Linked DNA regions of Homo sapiens: all the other regions are linked to region 7. Evidence: promoter capture Hi-C in 16 types of primary human blood cells and fetal thymus (Javierre and others, 2016). All regions are on one chromosome and are shown on one strand. The core of a region is centred on a gene start or on the middle of the fragment in contact, and the rest is flanking DNA. Distances in the headings are between cores, read along the strand shown. Region 1 has its middle 170 kb from the start of UBE2E1. Region 2 overlaps UBE2E2 (ubiquitin conjugating enzyme E2 E2). Region 3 has its middle 190 kb from the start of UBE2E1. Region 4 overlaps LOC124909353 (a long non-coding RNA gene). Region 5 overlaps UBE2E2 (ubiquitin conjugating enzyme E2 E2). Region 6 overlaps UBE2E2 (ubiquitin conjugating enzyme E2 E2). Region 7 holds the start of UBE2E2 (ubiquitin conjugating enzyme E2 E2).

What was found. The method cuts DNA at HindIII sites, captures the fragments that hold promoters and counts their contacts. A CHiCAGO score of 5 or more calls a contact.
Region 1: a fragment that was not itself captured here is called in contact with the fragment with the promoter of UBE2E2 in region 7 in 2 of 17 cell types (endothelial precursors and total B cells); the score reaches 6.6 in endothelial precursors.
Region 2: a fragment that was not itself captured here is called in contact with the fragment with the promoter of UBE2E2 in region 7 in 2 of 17 cell types (naive B cells and total B cells); the score reaches 6.3 in naive B cells.
Region 3: a contact is called between a fragment that was not itself captured here and the fragment with the promoter of UBE2E2 in region 7, in 6 of 17 cell types (endothelial precursors, naive B cells, total B cells and 3 more). The highest score is 7.5, in endothelial precursors.
Region 4: a fragment that was not itself captured here is called in contact with the fragment with the promoter of UBE2E2 in region 7 in 1 of 17 cell types (endothelial precursors); the score reaches 5.9 in endothelial precursors.
Region 5: a fragment that was not itself captured here is called in contact with the fragment with the promoter of UBE2E2 in region 7 in 3 of 17 cell types (endothelial precursors, total B cells and naive B cells); the score reaches 5.9 in endothelial precursors.
Region 6: a fragment that was not itself captured here is called in contact with the fragment with the promoter of UBE2E2 in region 7 in 1 of 17 cell types (endothelial precursors); the score reaches 6.8 in endothelial precursors.

Annotation. Positions count from the first base shown.
Region 1 is chr3:23,635,604-23,638,303 of GRCh38, reverse strand. No RefSeq gene overlaps it. Among named protein-coding and RNA genes, the nearest start is that of UBE2E1, 170 kb to the left of the region's middle. The HindIII fragment of the contact is 1,579 bases long and covers 644-2,222 here.
Region 2 is chr3:23,532,530-23,535,346 of GRCh38, reverse strand. It overlaps UBE2E2 (ubiquitin conjugating enzyme E2 E2), which reads right to left. Exons shown (of 6, transcript NM_152653.4): 5 at 2,646-2,793. Among named protein-coding and RNA genes, the nearest start is that of UBE2E1, 270 kb to the left of the region's middle. The HindIII fragment of the contact is 7,382 bases long and covers 1-2,817 here.
Region 3 is chr3:23,610,298-23,612,997 of GRCh38, reverse strand. No RefSeq gene overlaps it. Among named protein-coding and RNA genes, the nearest start is that of UBE2E1, 190 kb to the left of the region's middle. The HindIII fragment of the contact is 1,003 bases long and covers 761-1,763 here.
Region 4 is chr3:23,680,361-23,683,060 of GRCh38, reverse strand. LOC124909353 (a long non-coding RNA gene) reads right to left here. Exons shown (of 2, transcript XR_007095844.1): 2 at 1,298-2,700. Among named protein-coding and RNA genes, the nearest start is that of UBE2E1, 120 kb to the left of the region's middle. The HindIII fragment of the contact is 5,525 bases long and covers 1-2,700 here.
Region 5 is chr3:23,591,444-23,594,143 of GRCh38, reverse strand. It overlaps UBE2E2 (ubiquitin conjugating enzyme E2 E2), which reads right to left. Exons shown (of 6, transcript NM_152653.4): 6 at 2,350-2,700. Among named protein-coding and RNA genes, the nearest start is that of UBE2E1, 210 kb to the left of the region's middle. RefSeq lists enhancers at 113-222, 243-292. The HindIII fragment of the contact is 3,698 bases long and covers 1-2,700 here.
Region 6 is chr3:23,574,938-23,577,637 of GRCh38, reverse strand. The region is part of intron 5 of UBE2E2 (ubiquitin conjugating enzyme E2 E2); the gene reads right to left. Among named protein-coding and RNA genes, the nearest start is that of UBE2E1, 230 kb to the left of the region's middle. The HindIII fragment of the contact is 1,762 bases long and covers 450-2,211 here.
Region 7 is chr3:23,201,773-23,204,588 of GRCh38, reverse strand. It overlaps UBE2E2 (ubiquitin conjugating enzyme E2 E2), which reads right to left and starts at 1,262. Exons shown (of 6, transcript NM_152653.4): 1 at 1,125-1,262. It overlaps UBE2E2-DT (UBE2E2 divergent transcript), which reads left to right and starts at 1,596. Exons shown (of 2, transcript NR_136176.1): 1 at 1,596-1,725. RefSeq lists a silencer at 1,102-1,791 and enhancers at 2,142-2,201, 1,614-2,589. The HindIII fragment of the contact is 2,247 bases long and covers 1-1,960 here.

The DNA.
Region 1 (2,700 bases), core at 184-2,683, 430 kb before region 7:
AAATTAGCCAGGCGTGGTAGTGGGCACCTGTAATCCTAGCTACTTGGTAGGCTGAGGCAGAAGAATCACTTGAACCTGGGAGGCAGAGGTTGCAGTGAGCCGAGATCACGTCACCGCAGTCCAGCCTGGGCAACAGAGTGAGATCCTGTCTCAAAAAAACAAAACAAAACAAAACAAACAACAACAAAGAAAATATCAATAAAGAGAAACTATTAAAAAGAACCACATAGAAATTCTGAACATAGAAAGTACAAACAGAAATGAAAAATTTATAAAGGGGTTCAACAGTAAATTTGAGCTGGCAGAGAAATCCAAAGGAAGTCAGAAAGTACTTAGAGCTAAATGAAAATAAAGACACGGCATACCAACACTTATGGGATACAGCTAAAGTAGTGCTGAGAGGGAATTTTATAGCTATAAATGCCTATGTTAACGAAGAGGAATGATCTCCAATCAGTAACCTAAACTTCTCCCCTAGGACTCTGGCAAAAGAAGAGCAAACTAAACTGAAGCAAGTAGAAGGAAGAAAAGAATAAAAATTAGAGTAGAAATTAATAAAATAAAATAAAAAGTAGGAAAACAATAGAGACAATCAGTAAAACCAAAGTTGATTATTGAAAAGATGGACAAAAATGACAAAGCTTTAGCTAGATAGACCAAGAGAAAAAGAGAGAAGGCTCAAATTGCTAGAATCAGAAATGAAAGAGGAGACACTACTACTGACTTTACGGAAATACATGGGATTATAAGGGCATACCACAGGCTGCATGCCAAAAAAAGCAGATAATTTAGATGAGATGGAAAATTCACAGAAAGACATGTACTACTGAAACTGATTAGAGAAGTAGAAAATCTGAATCGACCTATATCCGGTAAAGAGATCAAATTAGTAATTTTCAAACTTCCTGTGAAAGAAAACTCAAGTCCAAGTGGCTTCACTGATACACTTCCCAACTCATACTTTGAGGCTAGTATTTACCCTGATACCAAAATCAAAGACATTACAAGAAAAGAAAAAAGGACCAACATCCCTTATGAATACAAAAATTCTCAAAAATGCAAACATAAAATACTGGCAAACAGAATACAGCAACATATAAGGAGGTTTATATACCATGAGCAAGTGGGATTTATAACAGGAATACAAGGTGAGTTTACAGTCAGAAATCAATTAATGTAATACACACTATTAATAGAATAAAGCATGCATAGTAGAAAGGAAGAATTAAAACAACCTCTTTTTACAGATGACATGATCTTGTATATAAAAAATCCCAAGGAATCTACTAAAAAACTAATAGAACTAGTAAACAAGCTCATCAAGGTAACAGGATATAAGATTAATATTCAAAAGTCAATTTTATTTCTACTCACTAAAAAGAAATATTGCAAAAAGGAAATTAAAATAATTCAATTGATAGTAGCATCAAAAAGAATAAAATAGGCATAAATTTAATAAAAATACACAATTTATACACTTAAAACTATAAAATATTGCTGAAATAAATTTAAAAGTCCTCAATAAATGCATTAGAATGGTATAAATCATTGCTTGGAAGATTCAATATCACTAAAATGGCAGCATTCCCCAAATGGATTTATAGATTCAACGCAGTCTCTATCATAATCCCAGCTGGTCTGTGGTAGAAATTGATATACTTATCCTAAAATTCTCATGAAAATGCAAGGGACCCAGAATAGACAAAACAACCTTGGAAAAGAAGATCAAAGTTGGAGGACTCACATTTCCTGATTTCAAAACTTGCTACCAAAGTTACAGTGATCAGGGCAGTTGCTGTGGCTCATGCCTGTAACCCCAGCACTTTGGGAGGCCAAGGTGGGAGGACTGTTTGGGTCCAGGAGTTCGAGACCATACCAGGCAACATAGGGTGGCCCTCATCTCTACAAAAAAAAAAAAAACAAAACAACAACAACAACAAAAATTTAAAAATTAGCCAGGTGTGGTGGCACGCACCTGTGGTTCCAGGTACTCAGGAAGCTGAGGTGGGAGGATCGCATGAGCCAGGAAGACAGAGGCTGCAATGACCTGTGACCATGCCAACTGCACTCCAGCCTGGGTGACACAGCAAGACTTTGTCTCAAAAAAATAAATAAATAAAAAATAAATTTAAAAAAGTTATAGTAATCAATACAGTGTGGTACTGACATAGACATAGTCACATAGGTCAATGGAATAGAATTGAGAATCCAGAAACAAAGCTTTATATATATCATCAGTTGGTTTTCTACCAGGGTGCCACAACAATTCGGTGGAAAAAGAATAATCTTTTCAACAAATGGTGCTGGAACAACTGGATACCCTTATGCAAAAGAATGCATTTCATATCATATGCAAACATTTACTCCAAATGTATTGGAGAGCTAAATGCAAGAGTTAAAACTATAAAACTCACTGGGTGCGGTGGCTCATGCCTGTAATCCCAGCACTTTTGGAGGCGGAGGAGGGCGGATCATTTGAGGTCAGGAGTTCAAGACGAGGCTGACCAACATGGTGAAACCCCATCTCTACTAAAAACACAAAAATTAGCTGGGTGTGGTGTCAGGCACCTGTAATGCCAGCTACTAGGGAGGCTGAGGCAGGAGAATCATTTGAACCCTGGAGACAGAGATTGCAGTGACCTGGGATCATGCCACTGCACTCCAGCCTGGGTGACAGAGTGAGACTCTGTCTGAAAAAAC
Region 2 (2,817 bases), core at 248-2,747, 330 kb before region 7:
AGGTGTTTATCGGTCACCTATTGTGGGCCCATTTGGTGTCCCAAATACTCTGGGTAACAATATCAACAACACATTACCATTTATAAATGGCTTTCACATATACCATCTCATTTTAACCTCAGAGGAATCCAGTGATTTAGGCAGGGCTGGTACTAATCCCAATTTTATATCAAAAACTAAGCCTGTGGAAAGTTAAGTGACCCATCCAATGTGATATGACTAATAAACAATTAAACTGGTTTTCAAATCTACATCTGCTGTCTACAAATATCATGCTGATAAGGATGGGTAGTCATACCCTAAAGAACATCTGTGTTGGAATGGACCAAAAATTCTTTAAAGAGACAAGTGCAAATTACAAAAAGAGTATGAAAAAGATTTAGAAAATAAGTTTATGTATGGATAAGAGTGAGAAAGTATTTTTTAAGTGAGTTAAATTTGTATCATTATACAAGGCCTATTTTTGAGGTGACAGCATTTCCGGGTTAAAATAGCTCTACAGATTCAGTGTAGGAAAATCTTATTTATTCCTATTCTATCAAACTTGTTTTTGTGATAATTTGAAGATAGATTTAAGATAAACTTCAATCTAACCTAATCTTTCCTACCTCTGTAGGTAAAAAAACCTACAGAGATTGAAAGTGTACCAGATAACAGTGTGAAATAAGTCCATTAAGCAAAAGAATGGACATTTGACTACTTTAAAATAAACAACTCTATTTAAGATTCTAGAAGTGTCAACATTCATAAAAACCAATTAGGAAACTTTATTTTTATGTGTTAAAAAGTGTGATAAACTAAATGTTAGCATGTATTTTACAAATTCTCTTCTAGTCTCATATGAGGCAGGCTGTCTTTGGTTTTATGGAACATTATTTTTAGGCTTGTTCTTACTATCAATAGCATTATTTCAAAATCTATTTCTTTTACTTATGTGGTTCTGCTTTAGTTAGGAGTGATTTTTAAGTTTTTGCAGAATGCATTTGTAATTTTCTGAAACGGAGCAAAAAAAAAAAACTAGTTCACTGAACAGAAGTCTTTTTGATTGCTGAGAGAAGGCTTTGGTGGAATGAATCTATTCCTTTAAGCAGGAATATCTGTAGAGAGAACAGGCTGTCATATACAGGCTTATTCAGGGTAACAGATTCCATTTCAGCTGACTTGGAGGCAAAGCAGGCCAGGCTTCGAAATCACCTCAAAAAAAAAAAAAAAAAAAAAGCCTTCTTGCAACATTACCTCCAAATGAGGTTATACAAGGTTATACACAGTCACAGACAAATGGGATTAAAATGGGAACAACAGGACTGAAAGAACAAAATTAACTTTAAATTAGTATAACATTATTGGACTTTACTGTCTGTAGTAAAGTATGAATTAATTCAAAAAATATTTTATAATGATCCTGCACAATTTTATTTTTTGGGCAGGCTGGGTACAGTGGCTCATGCCTGTAATCCCAGCACTTTGGGGGGCCAAAGCGGGCGGATCACAAGGTCAGGAGTTCGAGACCTGGCTGGCCAACACGGTGAAACCCCGTCTCTACTAAAAGTACAAAAATAAGCTGGGCTTGGCGGCACACGGCTGTAATCCCAGCTACTTGGGGGGCTAAGATAGGAGAATCGCTTGAATCCAGGAGGCGGAGGTTGCGGGAGCCAAGATCGTGCCACTGCACTCCAGCCTGGGTGACACAGTGAGACTCAGTTTCAAAAAAAAAAAAAAAAAAAAAATACTAATTTGCTACTTTAAAAAAGATTTTACTGCTGAAAAATAAAGAAATATAAAAGTAGAAAGACTGTTATTTCTTGATGTTTTATAAAACAGCCAGGATCCTAAGCAACCCCACTGATACTCGTCATTTCCATTTGTGTAAAATTTCATGTATCCAGTGAACAGAGTTTACTCATGATTGTAGAAGAGGGAATCTCATGCAATATTTAAGCTATTAATTACTCATAAAATAATTCTCCCACTGAGAACATCAATGAAAACCCTATAGCTATCTTTGGATTTTTGTATTTTCTAAAATAAACCCAATTTGTAAAGACATGGCCCAGGAATTAAGAATTTTCAGTGGTAAGCACACCAGCAAGCCATAAAGGCCTGGCTATAGACTTTTTCGTTTTCTTGGGAGGTGTATTTCCTTGTTTACTTTTGGGGTATTTCCTAGAACAGACCATTCAGGACCGTTATAATAGCTTGTCAGGATGCACAGTTACTAGGATGCCAAAAAGGTCACGTCTGCATGGTGCTGCCTGGTTGTTATCAGATTTTAATAGCCCACATTCCTCAAATTAACATCTTCTAGTAGGCATCTAATTAAAGATTAAGCTATTCAACTTGAATTTTTATTATTATTTGGCAGGATAACTTAATTCATTCTTTAAACGTACTTTCCCATCTAAAATGATTTTTCATTATTTTTTTTACCACACTATACTTTTTCCTTTTTGGCAAATGATAGGTCTTAAAAACACTAATGAGAAGACCCAATTTAAAAAGAAAATAGTTACATACTATGAAAATTTAACAATAATAGTAGTAGAAGCAGTGGTGGTAGTGGTAGTAGCAGTAGTAAACAAGTTACTAAGGGTCTGACATTTAAATCTTGACAAGCTCCAATTCATACTAGATTTAAAGTCTCTTACCAGGGTTGCAATCTGTAAGAAGTGAGCAGATGGAGAGGAGAACTTTAGAAATAGTTAAAGCCGGACTCCAGTTGTCCTTTAAGATGTCCAGACAGATCACACCTTGGCTGTTAATATTACAGTGATAGATTCTTGTTCGGAAGGTAACCTACAAGAAAATGTAAAGTTATAT
Region 3 (2,700 bases), core at 13-2,512, 410 kb before region 7:
ATGGAAATGATATAAAAGCACCTGGTGAATTCTAGTTTATGCTCTAATTACCTACACAAAACATTTTTCACTCACTCCATAAAAGGGTTATAGCCCATTTTTTTTTTTTATTTATGCGAGCTTGAAATGAAACTCACTTCCCAGTAAGGAGGTGATTCGCTGTCAAATCATGGGAGAAAGATTGTTTGACGAGGAAAGTTGATAGTCACATCCACGTGTTCCTACCCCGCCTCACCACACCACACTCTGGAGCAAACAACTCCTTTTTCTTTTTTTTATTCTAAACTGCGCTTGAGAAGTCTTATTTATACAATTTTACGCAAGCTAAGGGGAGCACATTGCGTTCTAGTCTTCTTTTCTTCTCCCCCTCTCTCTCCTTTTTCACAGAACCTAATTATTGGACACATGGCTCCTTTAAAACAATCAAGAACAGGAAGGCATGTCCTCTCTGCCGTTCCCTCTGGCTCTGAGGAAAGGCAGCCCGTTCAGGGTTCAGGGCCCGGGAATTTTTTCTGAGCAATAACCAGCTTGAAGTGGCCCTGCCAATGGAGTCCTCTGGGGCTGAGTTATCGGAAGCCCCAGAGATGCTCGTTCTCTGCAGGACATGGAAGTCTACCCTGACCAGAGGAGGGGTGAGACCTTTCGCTAGGGTCCTTTCACCTGCTCCACGTAGACCCCCCACCAGAAGTCTGCACCCCTCCCGCCCCCTTTTGCCTCGGCAGGAAGTTTCACACTCGCTTGTCTGGCCCTGAAACAAGCTTCCTCTTTCTCAGATGCAAGGCCACCTACTCGCTCTGGAATTCCTTCACAGACTAACCAGGCCCTTCTTGAGCAGGCCCCCAAAAGAAAAATGATTAATGTGGCTGATACGTATATTGCAGACTGTCCGTCAACAGAAGTGGAAAAAAAACACCTTTGGGGGCTGTCCCTAGGCTTAGGCACTACAGCGAGTTCCCAGCTTCAAAGGAGCTTTATCTAAAAGCCATTTTTCTCTGGAGCTGAGAGGAGCAGGGAGAGCGGGCAGCCGGCCAGCCACAGCTGGAGAGAGGACTCTAAAGGCCTGTTGAGCACCAGCTCCTTTGCTGGGTTGCCGGCTCTGGTTTTATTTTGGCCGTGTCAGATTCTGGCTTGAGTTTGTACTGATGTTGCCAGCTCATTCGTTATGCCCATAAAATAATAATGCCAGCAATAACAACAATGAATAATAATAACACAGCAGATCCCGTTTACTCAGCACTCACCATGTGCCCGATGCTGGGCTACATATTTAACCTAAATTTTCTCATTTAATCCTTACAAACTCCTAGAGGTTTAATGACCTCCCTAAACCCAAGTCAGCCATGAAATTCTGTCTGAATCCAAAGCCCATTGAGGACTCTGCTCTTCTATATATGGCCTGGGCTGTATTTTCAAATCCCCAGAGGACGGAACTTTTAAAAGGCTGTTACCCGCCCAGGCCCTGGAGGCTGGGAGGTCACCGAGGGGCTGTCATTTTTAGGAAGGTCCTATCCACAGAGAGATGGCCAAGCAATGTGCCCACCTCTTTAAGTTAAAGGCTAAGGGAAACGTCACACTCTCAAATATTAGAAGGAAAATTATAAAATTGGTGAATATCAGAGTAAAGCAAAATTTGCCTTTCATATAGTAGACACTCAAAATCATTCTATGAAGTAGAACCCTCTAATTTTTTTTCTCCTAGACTTACCTCTTTTGTGCTTAGTAGGCCCTTTTGATGTCTGTGTAGGGGAGGTATTGCCCAAGCTTATTTTCTTTGTGACAACTTGAGTTCTTGAGCCATAGATTTTTAGGCCATGTAAAATGTAGGTGGAAACACAATTTCTCCCTTAACTTCTTTTTCTCTATTATCCTGATATTTAAAACATTCGTTGATTAAGTTTTTTTTTTTTTTTTGAGATGAAGTCTTGCTCTGTCTCCCAGGCCGGAGTGCAGTGGCGCAATCTCGGCTCACTGCAACCTCCGCTTCCTGGGTTCAAGTGATTCTCCTGCCTCAGCCTCCCAAGTAGCTGGGATTACAGGCGTGTGCCACCAAGCCCGGCTACTTTTTTTGTATTTTTAGTAGAGATGGAGTTTCACCGTGGTAGCCAGGATGGTCTCTATCTCCTGACCTCGTGATCCACTTGCCTCAACCTCCCAAAGTGCTGGGATTACAGGCGTGAGCCACTGCGCCCAGCCGATTAAGCTATTTTTGAACATATCATAGTAATGTGAACCACAAATTAGCATATTTTTCCAGGGCTGGAACATTTATTGAGGTTTCAGAACCTAAACATTTCCCAAGAAAACCTGCACATTAGTATTAGCAGAGTCCATAAATTGTTTTTAGAAACAGGTACTAAATAAATCCTAAATATATAAAGAATAGAAACGAAAACAAGACAACCTATCAGAGTTTATTTTAAATGTAATCCAGATAGAAGATTTCCACTCGGGCATTTTAGCAGCACACTCTGGCTTCGAGGCCGAGTGCAGCCCTGCGGTCAGCCACAATCCCCTTGGCTCTGTTGCTTAGTCAAGGAGCAAAATCAATGGCCTGTCCTTTCCTCTTCCCCCATTCCAGCCCTGTCCCCCAAGTCTCTCCATGCAAAGAATCCTTTGTAGTTGTACCTAATTTTCCTTCAGGCCTTGTAACTCTTTATTTTATTTCTTTGGTGACACCTGTTTTACTCTAGTGGGGCGAGC
Region 4 (2,700 bases), core at 96-2,595, 480 kb before region 7:
CTACACAAAATTTAAAAATTAGCTGGACATAGTGGTACATGCCTGTAGTCCCAGCTGCTTGTGGGGGCTGAGGTGGGAGGATTGCTTGAGCCTGGAAGGTCTTGAACTCCTGGGCTCAAGCCATCCACCTGCCTCAGCCTGTCAAATTGCTGGGGTTACAGGCATGAGCCACCACACCCAACCTCACTCCTTGTCCTAAAGCCAGCTCAAATGCCAGTCCTCTAACATTTGAAACTGTTCTCTCAGAGCAGAGGTTCTTGAAGTGTGGTTCCCAGCCACCACCACCAGCAGCAGCAGCAACAGCAGCACCTGGGAACTGGCTGGAAACACAAACTCTCAGACCCTGCTCACGACTTTCTGAATCAATTGCTCTGGGGTTGGGGCCCACTCATTTAGGTTATTTATTTATTTATTTATTTTTATTTTTTTGAGACAGAGTTTCACTCTTGTTTCCCAGGCTGGAGTGTAGTGGTGCCATTTCAGCTCACTGCAGCCTCCGCCTCCCTGGTTCAAGCGATTCACCTGCCTCAGCCTCCTAAGTAGCTGGGATTACAGGTGCCCACCTGGCTAATTTTTGTATTTTTAGTAGAGACGGGGTTTCACCATGTTGGCCAGGCTGGTCTCGAACTCCTGACCTCAGGTGATCCTCCTGCCTCGGCCTCCCAAAGTGCTGGGATTACAGGCATGAGCCACTGCACCTGGCCTATTTAAAAAATTTTTTTGAGACAAAGTCTAGCCCTGTTTCTCAGGCTGGAGTGCAGTGGCGTGACCATAGCTCACTGCAGTCTCAACCTACTGGGCTCAAACAATCCTCCCACTTCAGCCTCCCAAGTAGCTGGGACTACAGGTGTGCACCACCATGTCCAGCTAATTTTTGTATTTTTTGTAGCGAAGGGGTTTTGCCATATTGCTCACGCTGGTCTTGAACTCCTGGGCTCAAGTGATCCTCCTGCCTCAGCCTCCCAAAATGCTGGGATTACAGTTGTGAGCCACTGTGCCCAGCCCATTTGGGTTTAAATACGCCCTCCAGGTGATTCTGGTGTACCTGAAGTCTAAAAACCCCTTTAAAGCATTCATCACAGTGTTTTGGGACTGTGTGTCTGTTTTCAGCCTAAGAATCAGATATTTTTCAGGACAAGAACTGTGCCTTACTTTATCTTTTTAATTAAAGTGCCTGGAACAGTACCCAATACTTGGTTGACCTCCAGTCAAGGTTTATGGTTGAAAAAAAGCAATTTGAAGTTGGATGTTGTATTAGTAAGGGTTCTCTAGAGGGAAAGAACTAATAGGATAGATGTATATAGGAAAGGGAGTTTATTAAGGAGAACTGACTCACACAGTCACCAGGTGAAGTCCCACGGCAGGCCGTCTGCAAGCTGAGGAGCAAGGAAGCCAGTAGTGGTTCAGTCTGAGTCCCCAACCCTCAAAGTTGACAGGGGAAGTTGACAGGGGCTCTCGGGCCTTCAGTGGTGTAAGTCCACTGGTGTAAGTCCAAGAGTCCAAAAGCCGAAGAACTTGGAGTCTGATGTTCCAGGGCAGGAAGCATCCAGCATAGGAGAAGGATGAAAGCTGGAAGACTCAGCCAGTCAGCTCCTTCCACTTTCTTCTGCCAGCTTTTTCCAGCCAAGCTGGGGCCGATTGGATGATGCCCGCCCACACTGTGGGTGGGTCTTCCTGAGGGTGGGTCTTCTCCTAGCCCACCAACTCAAAAGTTAATCTCTTCTGGCAACACCCAGATACACCCACAAACAACACTTTTCATCCTTCAATCCAATCAAGTTGACACTTAATATTAACCATCCCAGAAGTCATGATGAGTTCCTTTTCATTTTCCTGTCCTTGAGATCAAATCTAGTTCTCAGAGACTATACAATTAAACACGGAAGAAATAAAACAGAAAATGTCATCAACTCTCAGATAGTAGGGAGGGGTGGGAAAAGGAGAGTCACAGAAAGCTCCTAATCATAGTTTTTATTTTATTTTATTAATTAATTAATTAATTAATTTGAGACGGAGTTTCTCTCTGTCATCCAGGCTGGAGTGCAGTGGTGAGATCTTGGGTCACTGAAACCTCTGCCTCCCAGGTTCAAGCGATTCTCCTGCCTCAGCCTCCCAAGGAGCTGGAACTATAGGTATGCAGCCACTACATCCAGCTAATTTTTGTATTTTTAGTAGAGACGAGGTTTCACCATGTTGGCTAGGCAGGCCTCAAACTCCTGACATCAAGTGATCCACCTGCTTTGGCCTCCCAAGTGCTGGGATTACAGGCATGAGCCACTGTGCGTGGCCCTAATCATAGTTTTTAAAAATCATTAAAATGTAGCACCAAAATAATCTTAACATAGTGTGTATTAGTTTCTAGGGCTGCTATACGGAAGTACCACAAGGCAGGTGACTTTAAACAACATTACCTTATTCTGTCACAGCTCTGGAGGCTGGAAGTCCAAAATCAATGTCAGCAGGGCCATGCTGTCTCCGTGACGGCTCTTGGGCAGAATCTGTCCCATGTCCTTCTTTCAGTTTCTGGAATTGCTGGCAATCCTTGGTGTTCCATGACTTGTATCCGTGTCACTCCAATCTCTGCTTCTGTTGTCATATGGTATTCTCTCTGAGTGCCTATCTATGTCTCCTTTGCTTATCAGCTCACCAGTCATATTGGGTTTAGGGTCCACCATACTGAGCATCTTAACTTGCTTACAT
Region 5 (2,700 bases), core at 92-2,591, 390 kb before region 7:
CATGGCTACCATGGAAGGTCCTCAGAGGCCAAGCTACTCTAAGCTCCTTGATGGTCTCAACTCCCAAAGATTCCAGATCTGATGTAGCTTAAAATGTTAGGGTTCAGAATATAACTAGGTCAGCTCTTCAATGCCTCTGAGGACAATTCTAGGACTAGCTGAGGTATAGGGTGTGCTCATTCGGCTCGCAGTCCTGGTCCACATATGAAAGTGTTCTGTACAGTAAGGACATTTTGACAGTTACAAAGCTACCTTGAAATAAAATGCAGGTGGTCAGGATATCTGGTAGGGCTTTTTGGGTGCAATTTCAACTGTTTTCAGTATTAAGTATGAAGACCTCTCTTTTTAAAGATACAGACATCAAAAAGTTGCCATGCCTGACAATAATTAACACCCCTCTTATTGCAGTACTGAGATGCAGAGAAGTTCAGGGGTTTTCCAACTGACCTGTTTCCCCATGGCTGATCAAATCTGCATGCAGTACCTCTAAGATCAGAATGCTGGTCCCTCCTGTTTGGTCTCCCATCTAATATCAAGTCCACATTTTCTTCAACATTTTTTTTTCCCATTTTTTGAAGATGGCAAAACCCCACCACCTAGGAATTGTGCTCCTCCTTGACTCTAAGACTGAATTATGCCAATTCATTTTTATGGTATGCCCTCATAGTCAAAGGAAAGGTTTATGTGGTTTTGTCGTTGACAGTAAGGGCTCTGGTGTCACATGCTTGAATGGGAATCTCGCTTTGGCACCTGGTTAGCTTTTTGCGACTGAGGGCCACCTACACCCTTAAAAGGTAGGCTGAGCTTTTATTAGATGACTTATTATAGCCTGGTATAGTACATCCTGAATACATATTATTTCCTTTCTTTTTAATTCCTAAATAAGTTTACGTGATGAACTTCTATGTTTACTTCCTAATCTTGGAATAAGAAGAAAAGACTGACTACTTCTGCAGTTGCTATCATCAGTGGATTCCTGTAGAACAGATAAAAATCTTCCCCTTGTTTGCAGCTTGATGACAAATTAAGGACACAACGTTTTGAATGATTTAAGATCAACAAATATAATCTCAAACCATTTCCTCAATAACCAATGGTCTTGCCTCAGTCAAGGATCTGCCAACATTTTATCTAACATAGCTACAAATACTATATCTAGCAGTAACTAGTGTGAAAAATTCAGCATTATTATGGTACAAAATAATTCCTAAATTTTAGAAATGTTATCCCTGTATTTTTAAGCTAAACAATTTTGTTTACTGAGTGTCAAATTACTCTTAAATCTTATTTTACATGCATTTTAAAAAATTTATTGGAATTGTATTGCCTGCTGCAATTACAGATTTCAAGTAAAATGACCATGTTATTTGAAATCTAGACTTCAGCTCTACTAAGTTTGTTGGTTTCTCTGGAGTTTCTCTAGCTTTTACATTTTGAGGGCTGTGTACATTTGTCATGAAGTATGAATAAATCATAAAGTTGGGGAGAGAAGTTTTACAGCCTCTTCATATCACAGATGGGCATTAAACCTAAAAATGGGTCACAGGAAAACAAACAGGTCAGTGACTAGAATTCCTACTAGAGTTGTTGTAATCTTTGGTTCCTAAATATCACAAATTTTGTTTTGTTTTTGAGACAGCGTCTTGCTCTGTTGCCCAGGCTGGGGTGCACTGGCGCAATTATGGCTCACTGCAGCCTCGACTTCCTGGGTTCAGGTGATCCTCTGACCTAAGCCTCCCGAGTGGCGGGGACTACAGGCGTGCACCACCATGCCCAGCTCATTTTTGTATTTTTTTGTAGAGCCTGGGTTTTGTCATGTTGCTTAGGCTGGTCTCGAAATCCTGGGCTCAAGCAATCTCTACCTCGGCGTCCCAAGCTAGGATTACAGGTGTGAGCCACCAAGCCTGGCCTAATAACACATTTTTAAATGGTCTGATGTACAAGTAGATGTGAAATGTGCAATGTAATATATTTATCACTTAAAATGTGTGTTGGCTGGCTACAGTGGCTCAAGCCTATATAATCCTAGCAGTTTTGGAGGCTGTGGTGAGAGGATCACTTGAGGCCAGGAGTTTGAGACCAGCCTGGGCAACACAGTGAGACCTTGTTGCTACAGACCAAAAAAAAAAAAATTTAATTTAAAAACTGCCTATAAAGATTGTCTTTAAAGTATTAGTATTATGGGTCTGGTTTAATCAGCCAAAAGTAGGGGAAAAAAGCAGTTTAATAAAATTTTATTTTCAATGGTTCAATGCCTTTAGTGCTGAATTTTAAAATCTGAAGTAAAAATAAAAAACTTTGTGGTGAGAAACTGTAGGCAATTAAACATTCTGAGCAACTTTCCAAAAATCAGTGTTGTACCATATTGAATTTATTTTATGTTAAAGAAAGAAATGACACATCGTTATTTGTTTTTCATCCAGCCCCCAGTCTATGTTGGTCTGTGTCAGGGATTGGCAAACTACAACCCATGGGCCAAATCCCATGCCTATGGTGGTAAATAAAGTTTCACTGGAATATAGCTCTGCCCAATGCATTTATGTACTGTCTGTGGCTCCCTCTACTACAACTAGAGGGTTGAGTAGTGCATCAGAGACCATACAGTGCCCTGCTATGCTGAGAAATGTTTTTAAATAAAATGAATGGTAAAATCGTTATTAAAAAGACAAAAAATATTCTCAGGTATTTTGGTTTAGAAGT
Region 6 (2,700 bases), core at 81-2,580, 370 kb before region 7:
GCTGTAGCTTCTATATCAGCAACTGCTTCTACATCTTGCACCTGCCTTGTTCCTTGGTCACCCTCAACCTTGCAATTTTATGTTAGGAAGATGGCTTCTTTTTTAAAACCTTGTGAGCCTACCTCTGCTAGCTTCCAACTTTTTTTCTGCAGCTTCCTCACCTCTCGGCCTTCACAGGATTGCAGAGAGTTACGGCCTTATGCTGGATTAGGCTTTGGCTTAAGGGAGTGTTGTAGCTGGTCTGACTGTCTATCCAGACCACTAAATCCCTATCAGCAATAAGGGTGTGTTGCTTTTTTTTTTTTTTAAATCATTCCTGTGTTCATCAAAGTAGCACTTTGTATTTTCTTTAAGAACTTTTCCTTTCCATTCACAACTGGCTAATGCTTGACACAAGAGGCCTAACTTTTGGCCTGTTTTGGCTTTTGACATGCTTTCCTCAATAAGCTTAATTATCTCCATCTTTCAATTTAAAGTGAGAGACATTTGACTCTTCCTTTCACTTGAACACTTAGAGGCCATTACAAATCAATTACAATAGTAGCATCAGAGATCACTGATCACAGATCACCATAAAGGATATAATAATAAAGTTTGAAATATTGTGAGAATTACCAAAATGTGACACAGAGACATGAAAGAGCACACGCTGTTGGAAAAATGGGGCTGACAGACACGGGCTTGCTACTAACCTTCAATTTGTTAAAAAAAAAAAACAATAACAACAGTATATGTGAAACACAAAAGCACTGTCAAACGAGGTGTGCCAGTACTGCCTTTTAGCTGTCTGTTTACTTTTCTGTTTTCTCACTGGACGGGAGCCCATGCACTCATTCAACAAATATTTATTGAGCCCCTACTCTGTTCCAGGTACTGGAGAACCAGTGCTAAACAAGTTTCTCCCCTCACAGGACTGTCTGTCATCTCTGTATCCCTCTTACCCTATATGTTTACTGCATGGATGGATGGATGATTAGAAGAATATAAGTAGATAAGGTATACACACAACAACAGCCATATATAGCACAGTCACTCCACAAGGCAGGTGTTCCTTTGCAGCACTAGCATTATAAATAGATTGCATCATAGATGTTTGTCCTGTCTCTACTCAAGGATTACTAGGAAGTCAGAGATAGGGACATGGTGGTGATTTTAACAGCATTCTTTCACTTTTCTCCTCTAATTATGTAAACATAATTTAAAAATTATGTTTTTTTAAACATAATTATTTTGTTATTGGAATTTGTGGCCTGCACTTTGCCATTTCTTGGATTCTTCAAGGCTATGATCCACTGTCCTCCGGCAGTTCCACTGTATCTTTGATTAATGTTATTCTTTTCGCTCCCCAAGTCACTGGAGGCTATCTGTGAGTTGTCTTAAAATGAGAGAAATAATTAATTTTTGTTTCTTTCATAATACTTTTATTCCATGGTTTGGTCTAGCCTAGTTTTATTTAAATCTTTTATAAAATTAAAACATAACAGATGTGCATTATAATAAATTCAAATAATACAGAAGTATGTATAAAGTAAAAAAATACTACCTTCTCTTCAACTCAATACCCCCTTCCACCTTGAGGCAACTACAGTTAATGGTTTGACCCTCATCCTTCCATATTTTATTTATTTAAATAGAAATCGCACAGACATTCTGCAACTCGCATTTTCTTCTGTAACAATGTACCGTAGCTGTGTTTCTGAGACAGCACATATTGACTTAGCACATTAGTTTTAGTAACTATAAGGCATTCCTTTGCATAGTGAGTCAGCATTCATTTTTCCACTCCCCTTATGATCACATTTAGATTTTGATTTTTTGCTGTTAGAACTATATTACAGTCTTGTATAAATCTTTGAGGACATATTTGAGTACTTCTGGAGGGCAGATTCCTGGACCACTGTATACATTTTAAATGTCTGGTAAATGCTGCCAAACCACCCTTCAATAAAAGTATGTACAATTTACTCTCTTTCTGGGCATTCTCACCAACTCATTATCAGCTTTTTTGTTTTTTTTCCAAACTAACAGAAAAATAATCTGTCGTTGTACCTGTATTTAATTTGATACCTACTGAAGTTTAACATTTTTTCAAGTTTGTTCACCATTTGTATTTCTTCTGTGAGTATTTTGTTCATGTCCTTAGTCCATTTTTTCTAATATGAAGGAACACTTTATACACTATAAATATTGAAAACACACTATAACTAAGCTTTGGCCTCAGTACTCGGTCAAAATTTGCTTTAGCTTTTGGAAGACGGAATAGGCAAATGCCTCATTCAATGTCATTTCCAGGTTTACTGAACTTGTAGAGATCAAAGATCATATAGGTTATTATCACATATAGTAAGCATAACATCATCACTTGGACTTACTGTTAGTATCTGAATACTGATTTTTAAATATTGGTAAGCATTCTGAATGTAACTTGGGACTAAAAATCTCTTTTAGCCAAAGACAAACTACATAATATATGAAGGAAACATCTGGCATTGTCTACACATGTATTCACACAAATGTTCAAAATGAGAGAGAAGAGCAGCCACCACATGTTAAAAGGCTGCTGGAACAAACATGGTTTTAATGTTATCCACTGCAAGTGCTAATACAGGCTGAGTAGCCCTAATCTGAAGATCCAAATTCTGAAATGCTCCAATGCGCATTTCCTTTGAGAGTCATGTAGGTGCTCAAAAAGTTTCAGAT
Region 7 (2,816 bases), core at 13-2,512:
TTGCCGTAGTAAAGGCAAATATTTAGATTCACAAAGTCCAGACTGAATTATCACATATCTAGAAACATACTTTTTAAAGAAATCAGGGATTAAAAACTAAGAAGAGCGTAAAATCCTTTAGAACCGCGAGATACTTTGAGGGTAAACCCTAGCACTTCCTTTCGTACTTTTAAATAAAAATATTTTAGTAGACTCTCAAGAATACACAATACAAAACGATGAATCTTGAAAACATGCAAATGGGTCTAACAGCCACCGAGCACAGGATGATGTCTTTCTAAAGCAGCCTTAATTTCCTTAAGGGAAGATGGATTGGACATTTCTGGTTGGTCGTGGGGGAAAAAAGCCACAAGAAGCCACGCTTTATCTTCATTAGAAATGGTAAAGGGCAAAAAGATCAAAACATTATGAGAGAGATCGGAGAAAAGAGGGGGAGAAGTGGGGTGGGCGGGAAGGGGGAGAGGACAGAGGGAATCCAGTTTCAAACCAGGCCAGTGGGGGCTGCAGAGAAGAGACCAGAGAAAAATGGGCTTCGGTTCCAAACTGTGACAAGCGCCAGGCATCACAAAAGACCAATACAACACACACCCCTCACCAGGACACACACAAATATACCCCACAAGGTCTTCTCCGGGCGGGCCACCGGGGTGCGGCGGCGAAGGAGCCAAACCCGGCACTCGCCAGGAGACACACCATGTGCAGCAATTATGCAATTAGGGAAAATAGCAAAAGATCAAGCCGGGCACTTTCCACCGTGACATTTATCCTGTACTTTTGAAAAGACTTAGTTCCAGGATGCGGCTAGGAGAAGGAAAGCGCTGGGAGGGTTGAGAAGGATGGGGAACTGAGAACGGAAGGGGGTAGAAGGAGGACAGGGAGAGAAGAGGCAGAAGGGGGGGATGGGAAGAAGGGGGAGGGGTAGAAAGGGCGAGAAACGGGGGCAGGAGGCTCGCGGGAGGGGGCGTAGGGAACCGGGCACGGGGAGCGAGGAAGGAGGGAACTAGGGCACGAGCGGTGTAAGCAGAGACCTGCGACGCGGAGGGGAGGTCGGGGGAGTGAGGAGGACGTCAGCGAGAGGGAGGACGCCCGAGGAGGGGAGGCACCGGCGCGGCCCGAGCGAATACCTGAGGGGGGGGTGTCCGTGCAGGTCGCAGGCTCGAGCCGAAGCCCTGGGAGAGAGCTGCCCAGGCGCGAGGGGGAGGGAGACTGGGGAGGCCCCAGGGACGGGATGTCCCCTGCGGACCGTCTAGTCACCGAAAGCCGGACCCACGCACCACGCACCCGACCACGCCTGTCCCCGCCGCGCTCGCGCCCGCCCGGACTCACCCTCAGCGCCGCCGCTGCCGCCGCCCCCGGCCGTTCCAGCTCCGGCTCCTGAGGCTGCTGCCCGCGGCTGTCGCTGTGGCTGCCCCTGAGTCCTGGAAAGTGAAGCCACCACCTCCGGGAGCCGCCGCCGCCCGGCCGTCCGCGCGCGCACCCGCGAGTGCGCGTGCCTGCGCGCCCGCCCGGGAGAGACCGCGAGAGCGCGAGCCCCACGTCGGCCATGCGGCGCCGCGCGCCTCCCTCCTCCCCCCGCCCCTCCTCCTCCGGCGCGCGGCCGCGAGGGGGCGGGGGCGGGAGCGCGCCCGGGCGGGCTGCCCCGCCGGTCGGGAGAGGGGGTGGGGAGGCGGCGAGGAAAAGTAAAGTGACAGCTGGGTCCCGCGCGCAGACTGGGCTCTGACGGGGGTGAGCGAGGGGCGTCCCACGGGGAAGGAACGACAAGGACGGGGAGAAGTGGGGGAAACCGAGGCTGACGGGGTGGCTTGAGGGGAGGGGACGCGAGGACCTTGCCGGGCACGCGCATTAAAGGGAAACGCCGGCTGGGGGTTAGGGGTTACCCCAAGACGGTGCAGGCAGTGGGACGAGGAGGCCTTTTACCCCCATCCACCGCAGCCCTTGACTTCACGCTCGCCTCGAAGCTTTCGCAAAGTAGATACGGGGACTGACCCTGTTGACACACTAACCCAAACTCGCAGACGCGTGGGGCTCGCATGTACCCAAGACAGGAAAACTTCACGTTGGCCTGGAAACTTCTTCCAGGCTAAGCCTGAGTCTTCACCAGACACTGCAGCACGAAGGCCCTTCTGCCTTTTGGCTCGCCCTGGCCCAGAATGCGCACCAGCCGGTAGAGAGGAGCTTCGGGCCGTTTAGCCCTGGGGTATTGAAGAGAGGGGTGGGGGTACAGGGTGCACCACTGTCAGAGTGAGTGGGAAGCTGCCTTCATGCCCAGTTGAAGGATATGGGAACAGTAGCAGTGCTGTAGGTGGCATGAGGGAACATTAGGTTCCGTTGTACTCCTCATCCCAAATAACCGTTTAAAAAAAAAAAAAAAACGTACCTGCTTTGCGAACTTAGCTTCCACGAAATTTCTCCCACTCCAACCTCCAGCCTCACTTACCAACGGAATGCTGGGTCGTTGGCAACGGGGTGTCCAGGGATGCAGCAAAATTAACTTCTATCTTTGTGGAGGAAAGGATTGGAAGATCTTTCACTGCTTAATTGCTGAAATTATGGTTGCTACAGTACTTCATTTGACTGTAGATGTTTTAACTGCTATTTACTAAGTTCAAAATGGGTTTAATACAAATCAGTTACCCTTTTCATTTATTCAAGGAATATTTATTGATACCAGGCACTGTCTAGGTGGTAGATATATGACATTGAATAAAAGAAAAAAATCCTTGTCCTCAGAACTTCCCTATGTCTGAACCTTCTCTGTTGTACACTCAGCATCACATTCGTCAGCAAATTCTGTTGACTCTGTTTTCACAAATATA